Linked DNA regions of Homo sapiens: region 1 is linked to region 2. Evidence: promoter capture Hi-C in 16 types of primary human blood cells and fetal thymus (Javierre and others, 2016). All regions are on one chromosome and are shown on one strand. Each heading gives the region's core, a stretch centred on a gene start or on the middle of the fragment in contact. The rest is flanking DNA. Distances are from core to core; before and after follow the strand shown. Region 1 overlaps CDK20 (cyclin dependent kinase 20). Region 2 holds the start of AGTPBP1 (ATP/GTP binding carboxypeptidase 1).

Region 1 (2,700 bases), core at 79-2,578, 2.2 Mb before region 2:
TCACCAGCTTTCAGGGATTTCCTCCCGCTGTCACTCACACACACTGCTCATTCATCTGCCTCCTTACCCCCTTTTGCCCTTTTTTGTCCACTTGTTCACCTTTATTTACCTATTTCTTTCATTTCTCACACATTCACTCTCATTTGCCTACTTATTTCTTAATGTATTCATTCATTCACCGACTTTTTTTCTCAAAACATGTAGTGATTTATAATGTAACTAGCACCTATTGAGCTCCCGATGTGTTCTGCAGGCATTATATACATTGTCATTTTGAGACCTCTTTACTACTGTACAAGGCAGGTTTCCAGATCTCTGTTTCTCAGGTGAGAGGAGGAGGTTATGTCACCAGCTCTTGGGCCCTCCGTTAGTCAGTAGAGGGTTTGGCCCAGGTTTGATTGAGAGTCCATTCTTCCCTTGGGACCTCCCATAGGCTCTACCCTGTGTTGGGCACTGGTGACACAGAGAAACCAGCTCCAGCCCAGCTCCTGAGGACTTAAGTGTGCTAACAAGAGACAGAGGCAACAGGGCCCACCTAGTGTGGTTCGTGCTGTGATAGGGTACCGGGAGGGGCTGCTGGAACACGAAGAGGGGCATCTTTCACCCCTAGTGTCATTACTCTTTTGGTGCTCTCTCTCACCCATGTCGAAATAGGGAATGTATTTGACTCCCTGGAGAGTTAACAGGGTTGGGTCTCTGTGATCTGGAGATATGCATGATATATTGGATGACAAAAGCATGTTATAAAATTTTGTGTCATCTGGGTTTTGTTTGGAAATATTATATATGTGAATGTGTATTTGTGTGTGCCATATCTGTTGTAAAGTCTGGTAGAATACACTCTAAGATTGACTGTAGGATTTTTCTTTTGTTCTTTTTCTGTTGGATTTTATGTCTTACCTGAATGTGTGCATGTGTTTTGATCTGTTAAATGGTTGTGTACTACCTGAAAAATCCGAAAACAGCAATCAGGCCATTTTGATTTTTTGAGGAAGATAAAAGGGCTTCCAGACAGCCATGTGTGGGATAGGTGGAGAGATCCATAAGGAAGCTGGTGATATGGTCCCTACATCCAGTTGGTCAGCAATTCTGAAGGTTCTAACTTTAAAACATACTCTAGATTTGCTCCTTGCCCAAGTCATCATCACCACTCATCAGAATGACAGTGGCAGCCTCCCCACTGCTCTCCATAGCCACAGTCCGGAGGGCTTTGTCAAAAGTGTAAGTTAAGTCATCGGCTCCCCTGCGTAAAAAGCCCTGGTGGCTTCTCTTCACACTTAGAGCACTATCACCATGTGCCCACCTCCAGCTGGCCTCTCCCTTTTCTCTCATTCAACACAACTTCTTAGGCATCTCTCCAGTGACCAGCACCTATCTAGGGTCCAGGAGCACAGAACAAGGCAGACACATCCTTCCCTTAAACAATCTCATGTACTCACATCCCTCTAGCCTCCTTCTGTGCTGGCGTTAGGGCCTTGCACTTGCTTTTCTTCCTGCTCAGAGCTTTATCCCAGATCCCCACAAACTGGGTCCTCATCTAGCCCCACCCCACCTAAATAAAGAAGTATCCTTTTCTCCACTCACAGAATCACACTATCCTCTTCTAGTTCTGTTGATTTTTTTTCTTTTTTTGATACAGGGTCTCACTCTGTCACCCAGGCTGGAGTGTAGAAGTGCGATTTTGTCTCCCTGTAGTCTCAACCTCCTGGGCTCAGGTGATCCTCCCACCTCAGCTTCCCAAGTAGCTAGGACTACAGGCACGTGTCACCATGCCTGGCTAGTTTTTTGTATTTTTTGTAGAGACAAGGTTTCACCATGTTGCCCAGGCTGGTCTCAAACACCTGGGTTCAAGCCATCCGCCCACCTTGGCCTCTCAAAGTACTGGGATTACGGGCATGAGACGTCATGCCCAGCCCCCTTGTATTTTGGTTCCTGTACTTACAGAATCTGAATATATCCCTTTTATTCATTTATTTGTTAAACTGTTTGTCCTTTGTGCTGTGAGTTCATTAAGAGTCCTGTCTCTCAGCTCACTCTCTGTGTAGCCTGGCTCCTCTGACAGTACTGGCCTCAGTGTTTGTGATGTGTCTGTAGCTGTCCCAGCACTGGGAAAGGTGGGATTCCTGGTGTCCTTTCCTTGGTGCTGGGATTCGGTGGTTCTAGAGGAAACAGGAGGAGACCTGTCCATCTCATGTGTGACCATCCAGATGATTTTCAGGCGGGTAGGCTGGGTGGGCGGACCAGATGGTGCCACTAAATGACCTTTTTTAGACCTTTTAGTGTTCATGGAGAATTAGAGTGGGGGCACACCTTATCTCAGGAGAGCAGAGCAAATCATGAGCATCGAGCTCTCTGATTCTTAGCTCAGGTCCACGTCACCTTCTTTGCTTACTGTCTTTTTGGATACAGGGTCCTCTGTCAGGGCATGGGCTGGGGTCTCAGGGTCACAGAGAGGGTCTGGTGACTTGAGTCTGGGGGCTAACAAGATGTCCTGCCCACAGGTGGTACAACTGAAGGCTGTGTTCCCACACGGTGGAGGCTTTGTGCTGGCCTTTGAGTTCATGCTGTCGGATCTGGCCGAGGTGGTGCGCCATGCCCAGAGGCCACTAGCCCAGGCACAGGTCAAGAGCTACCTGCAGATGCTGCTCAAGGGTGTCGCCTTCTGCCATGCCAACAACATTGTACATCGGGTCAGTCTCA
Region 2 (6,605 bases), core at 976-3,475:
CAGGAGGACTGCTGAGCCCAGGAGTTTGAGACCAGCCTGGGTGACTTAGGGAGACCCCGACTCTACAAAAACAATTAAAAAAATTAGCCAGGTGTGGTGACGTGTGCCTGTAGTCCCAGATACTCAGTGGGAGGCTGAGGTAGTACGATTCATTAAGCCTGGGAGGTCAAGGCTGCAGTGAGCCATGATTGCACTACTGTATTACAGCCTTGGCAACAGAGTGAGAGTCTTGTCTCAAAAAAAAAAAAAAAAGAAAGAAAAAGAAAAAGAAAAAGAAAAACAACTGAGGTGTACCTTTACCTTTTGGAGGCTGAGGTTCTCGGGAGAGATGGTGTCCAACATACAGGAGATCGGTGAGGATATGCAAGGTCCCACGATGCTAGAGGGCTGTGCCAGTGTTGGTGGACAGGCTTCAAAGCTTAAAGGCTAACAGGGTGTGGCCCTGTTGCAGCCTGAGCTGGTAGCGTTCAGGGAAGTGGCTGACAGAGCACGCGATCTGCCACCCGCTGAGCTCTCAAAGTATCTTGCAAATTCTTGAGTTTATATGTATTTCGAAATCCTGTAGTTGAGGTCAGTAACATATATATGGTGTTTGATAAGGTGTAACGTCACATTAGCTAGGAGAGGTGAAGTTTATTTCAACTTCATACACGTGGGATCTGATGAAGAGTGATGTCACATTCCCAGGGGGTGGGGGAGTAGCTCTAAGTTCTTAATTACCGCAAAACATAAATCACTCACTCTTGTGGCAAACTATGTGATTGGAATCATTTCAAAGCTATGTAATGCTGCTATTTATCTTGTGTGGGTTAATCTCCTGGGTCTGTGTTGTGGTCATCAAACTATGCTAACAGTGCTTGTGAAAGTGGGATTCAAATTCCACAAACACACACATCCACATAATATCTTCCTATATTGCAGGTTGACTCATTTAGAAACATGTTCTTTAAGAAAAGTTTCAGGTATATTACATACATATTTAGCATTATTGTAAAATTATTACATTATTATTGGGTATTTTCAGATAATACGTTTCTGATTGGGTGGTTTGGGGTGGTGGTTGTTTCAAAATTATTTTAAATACCGTAACCTATCTTTTAGTGCTCACGATGAGGGAAACTACGATGTTTATAAAATGGCAGTTTCTTGTTCATCTGAATAAAGACATCTACCAAGGGCAAACTGTAAGAAGCACTGTGGTGTACCTTGGGTTACTTTTTGAATTGCTTTCACACCTGCTTAATTTTATTTGAACAAGATCATAAAACAAAACAAAAATCTCACAGTTCTCAATGCATTCCCTTATCTAGTTGTGATATTACATTCCTTACCATAAACAGTAGCAAACATGTTCTTGTGCAACGTGAAAAAGTAAATGATGTCAGTATTTATTTGCAATACATTGCAGTACACTGAAGTACAGTCAAAACAGAAGGGGGTGTATTAGTAATTTCTCTGACACATTACTTTGGCTCAGATAAAACATTCCGCCTTTGCCTTCAGTAGCCAACTTAGCATTACCGTTTTGATTATATGCAGGCACTTTTTCAAAAAACAGTAAATCAGCATGCTATTTTGTTCGCTGCAGCACTAGGCATCTAATTTACTGAGATTTGGCCACAAGGTGCAATCCTGTTGTTTTCTGGGAGCCCGATTGTAGTAACAGCATGTCCCTTCCAGCCTCTTATTATGGACCCTCCTTGAGGTCAGGAAAGGTCTAAGCTTTACCGCAGTCCCCAGCGTTTGATGCGACCCCGGGATCACGTGGGGAGCTTTAAGAACCCTTCCTAAGAAAGTGACTGATTGATGGCGGGGGAGGGGGTGGGCGCGGGCTTAGTTCCGGGAAAAGGCTGGGGCCCTCGTTGGGAGTGTACAGAAAGATGACTTGAAGAACGTGGGGAGTCGCTCGCAGTTCGGTACGGAGGGGCGGTGGCCGGGGCTGCTGGGTACAAGGGACCGGCAGCGCGCGGAACACCCGCCCCTAATTCCCGCTCCCGTGCGCGCTCCGCCCCCACGCGCGCGCTCCCTCCCGTCAGGCGCGCAGAGAGGCGGGGCGCAGCGCGCACGGAGGTAACAAGGGACGCGGCGGGAAGAGGGCGTGCGCTCCGCCCCGCCCCTTTCGCGGCCTCGCACGCCCCGCCCCCACTCCCTGCGCGTGCTGGGAGCCGGCTGGCAAGGCGTGCGGTGGGCGGGGCGCCGCGCTGACGTTGCCCGGGATGCGGACAGGTTCCGCCGCCTCCAGCGCCGCCGCCGCAGCTGCCGCCGCCGCCGCCTCCGCCTCGCCTGCCACCGGGGTTTGTATGAAAACACCGGGCGGCGGGCGGCGAGGGATCCGCCGTGATCCAGGTGCTGAGCCGGGTGCTGCGGCTCTGCGCGGTCCCCGCCAGCGCCCCATCCTGAGCCGGTGAGCGCCCTGCTGCAGTCCTCATGTCCCGGCCGGCCGTCCCTCTGCTCTCCCCGGGCCGCGGGAGATGCGAGCGACGGCGCCCGGGGGTAGGAGGGGCGACCCCGGATCCCTGCGCCCCTTACCTGACGGGTTGTGTAACGCATGTTACACATGTGACGCGTGAGGGGAACGCACTCGGTCTTGAGGGAAAGCCCTGACGGGGTGGGGCTTTGACTGGGTCTGGAAAACGCCTTCCCCAGTCCCCGGACCCTCGGTGGATCCCCGTCCCAGACCTTGCGGAGGGTATCGGGCGCGGTCTCTGGGCGGAGGCCGCCCTTTCTGCTCAGCCCTTTCTCTCGGGCCCGAGCTCGCGGCGCCGCGGGGAGTCCAGCCGAGGGGCTGCAGGGCCGGGGGCGGGCGCGCCCAGCCCCGCTCTCCCCCGCCCCAGTGGTAGCGGGCCGCTGAATCGCGGGCCCCTGTGCTTCGAGAATTCTAGCGTTCCCGACTGAGCGCCAGCAAGGTGGGATTTGCTGTGACATCGGCGATGGGCACGTTTGCTTCCTCTCGCTGGGTGGTTTGAGCTGAAGTGTGTCTTCTGTTTACAACTTGTCGCCTTGAGCGTTTGGTTTGAACCTGAATCAGATCACCCTGGATGACAGTGCAGAGTTTCCTTAGTGTCTTCCTTCCTGAATTGCGGGTTCTCAATTGCAAGTGTTCAAGGACTGTTGTAACCCAAAGGCTTGCTCGACTCTACCGTTGTTTTACCCCTTGTGCGGTATAAACCTCTTACGAGCACCAGGGCAATTGGAGTTGGTTGGGTTCCTTTCTTGGGCGTTTACTCATTGTAGAATGGAGTTTTCATGCATCATAGTGTAATCGATGTGAATGTTGATAATTTAAAGCCCATTTCCCGTTTTAACATAGCTTACTCAAGTGCCTGAAGATAGCGGAAATTTTCTTTGGCAGTATTAATTCTATGTGGGTTTTTTCCTTCAGGTGTTTAACATTGTAGTTGTGTTTAATTACAATGCATGACAATTTGTAGTTAGAAAGGACCTTAACAGTCTTCTTAATCGGTCATTTTCACTTACCTTTTATGTCCGTTTTTTAAGCTTTATGTAAATCAAATTATCCTTTGTGAACTTCTGAATTATTCTTATAAACTGGTTGTCTGAGAAAACCGGAAAGTTATTTTTGTAATTGTATTGTGGAATGTTTTTAGTTCAGTAGGCCAAAAAAGAAATGATTTATTTAAGGAACTTTAAATGGTGCTTATTTTAAAACATGTGCCAAATGTCAAAACCAAACAAAACTCTGAAAGATCTGTATTTCCTATGTAGAATTACTGCGAAATAATAAGTCGTGCCTTACCCACTGTTTCTCATCATGCAGGCAGAGTTCTAATATGACTTGCTCTTTTTCCCATTCCACTTCTCTTAAGTTAAATTCTATGGTGAAGTTACAGGTTCATTTTTAATGATCACAAAACTCTGCCTTGAATTGATTAATCACATAATTACAACTGCAGACTCACTCTGAACTCGGAAATGAAGTGGATAGGCTTAAAACTACCCTCGTATTTGGCCAACATTGCAAAGCATTTAAATCTATTAATTAAACTTTTGTAGAAGCAATTTTTATAAAGCTTTTCCGAATTGAGGCATTCTTCTCTTTAGAAAAGTCTGGCTAGGCTGCTATATAATAATGGTTTTACTTCCATTAGCAGAAGGAAAAGAGGTCCAACAGTTATGAAATTTTGTAATTTGTATTTTACTTTTTTTTTTTTTTTGAGACGGAGTCTCACTCTCTCGCCCAGGCTAGAGTGCCAGTGGTGCGATCTCGGCTCACTGCAACCTGCCCCTACCGGGTTCAAGCGATTCTCCCGCCTCAGCTTCTTGATTATAGGCGCGCGTCACCACGCCTAGCTAATTTTTGTGTTTTTAGTAGAGACGGGTTTCACCATGTTGGCCAGGCTGGTATCGAACTCCCAACCTCAGGTGATCCACTAGCCTCAGCTTCTTAAGGTGCAGGGATTACAGGCGTGAGCCACCAAGCTTGGCCTGAATTTTTTTTTTTTTTTTTTTGAGACGGAGTTTCGCTCTTGTCGCCCAGGCTGGAGTGCAGTGGCACGATCTTGGCTCACTACAGCCTCTGCCTCCCGGGTTCAAGCGATTCTCCTGCCTCAGCCTCCCGAATAGCTGGGATTACAGGAGCACACCACCACGCCCGGCTAAGTTTTTGTTTTTAGTAGAGACGGGGTTTCACCATGTTACCCAAGCTCGTCTTGAACTCCTGACCTCAGGTGGTCTGCCCACCTCGGCCTCCCAAAGTCCTGGGATTACAGGCGTCCGCCACCACGCCCGTCCTGGCCTGAATTTTTTTAAACCTCATCCAAAGTATTCATCTTCCCAAATCTGCTTTTCTTGCTTGAAGTCCCCCACTATCTGAAAGTTGAACAGTGCGTGAATAGCAATGGATGCACCTGTCAGAGGGCCATCTGCAAGATGGGAGCTTTCCTTAGGCAATGGGTTTCAGTATAAACAACATAAATTTTGTAGGGTGGGCACTGAATTTTAAACTTCAGATGTTATTGTTGATTACTGTGCCTGTGTACTATGGTGTAGTGGCTAAGGAGTTGGGCCTCAGAGCCAGATGGCTCGGTTTGGGTCCTGGCTTTGCTTTAGGCAAGTTATTTTTATTTTTATTTTTTTAAGACAAGTTATTTGTCCTTTTTGTACTTTAATTTTCTCAGCTCCAAAAATGACATAATATTAGTGTATACTCTTAAGATATTCTCAAATATTAAGTGATTAATACAAGTAAAGTGCTTAGCCCACAGTGCCTGGCATGTAGTAAGTGCCCAGTAAATATTGCTATTATTACCGTTGCTCTTCCTCAGTCTTCAAAGGGATCTAGTAAGCAGAAAAAGGACTTTTGGGGGATGGAGCAGTATTAGTGCAGATTAATTCCACTATGACCCATTTGCTCCTTTGGGGTTAAATGAGAGCTTAGTCTCACTGTCCTGCCTCCTGCCTTGGAAACATGTAAGTCAGTTTTAAATAGAACAGCTAGACCCTGAGCTGGGTGCCCTGGGATGCTACTGGAGAGCTGTTGATAAATCCGTTTGTCCCTTCTGACAGAACCTTGGATTGTCTCCCTCCTGTTGGTGATGGCTGCTATTTTAATCTTTTAATCATCTGTTTTTGAGTTTGTGATTGGGTGTTTCTTTGACTATAATGTGCCGCTATCAAAAATGTGATCTGTCAAAATATTGGTAGGTATGTACTTGTTTATTTGATCAGAATATTGTATGTTGTTTCCAGGGCACACAAAATCAATTTTTTTAAGCATTCTTTTTTATCTAAGCATTTTCTTTTTTATTGATATTATATAGTGTGAAATCAGTTTTGATTTGACATTGTGTTCATTTTCAGCTTTCATATAATTTTCCTAGGAACTTTTTTTTTCCCTCCAGTATGATTTTACATACTTGTTCTTGGTTTGCAGGGATCTAATATTAAAACTCTAAATGCTTTCAAACTTTTGGTTAGGACCCTTTTACATTGTTAAAAGTTGTTGAGGATCCCCAAAAAGCTTTTGTGAATTTATCTATGTTTACTGTATTGTAAATGAAAAGGGAAATATAAATTGTCAGTTCACTTAAAATGACAATTATAAACTCTTTACATGTTAATATAAACACCCTATTTTTAATGAAAACAACTTTTTTTTAAAACAAAAAATAAGGTAGTGAGAAAAGTGGCATTGTTTTACTTTTTTTGTAAATCTGTCTGGTTTAATGGAAACAGCTGGATTATCATATCTGCTCCTGCATCCAGTCTATTGCAATATGTTGTTTGGGTTGAAATACATATGGAGAAAATCCAGTCTCACATAGTTAATGGCTAAACAGGGTGGGGAGGCCGGGGAGGGAGCATTTTAATAGCCTTTTCCGATAATTGTGGACATTCTTGTTTGGTATTATATTAAAACTCAGTAAGTGGCAATTTCTTAAAGGTTAGATGCCGTGAGAAATCCAGTAAGTGGATTTTTGCATGCTCTAGTAAAACCCATTGGTTGGAACTTTGAATGGGTCTTATACTCATTCCTGAGATTGTAACATCATTCCTTGGTCATTTGTAAATATTGGTTCAGTGTTATGCAGATCTTCCAAATGTTGACATCTTTCATCATGCAATATTAAAGAAAGTTATGGTTG

What was found. Contacts are between HindIII fragments. The CHiCAGO score rates a contact against its expected background, and 5 or more counts as called.
Region 1: a fragment that was not itself captured here is called in contact with the fragment with the promoter of AGTPBP1 in region 2 in 3 of 17 cell types (naive CD8 T cells, activated CD4 T cells and fetal thymus); the score reaches 6.4 in naive CD8 T cells.

The regions. Positions count from the first base shown.
Region 1 is chr9:87,971,137-87,973,836 of GRCh38, reverse strand. CDK20 (cyclin dependent kinase 20) reads left to right here. Exons shown (of 8, transcript NM_001039803.3): 3 at 2,502-2,690. Among named protein-coding and RNA genes, the nearest start is that of CDK20, 2.0 kb to the left of the region's middle. The HindIII fragment of the contact is 4,347 bases long and covers 1-2,700 here.
Region 2 is chr9:85,737,574-85,744,178 of GRCh38, reverse strand. AGTPBP1 (ATP/GTP binding carboxypeptidase 1) reads left to right here and starts at 2,225. Exons shown (of 26, transcript NM_001330701.2): 1 at 2,225-2,404. RefSeq lists silencers at 1,902-2,501, 2,572-2,891 and an enhancer at 3,062-3,211. The HindIII fragment of the contact is 1,776 bases long and covers 1,725-3,500 here.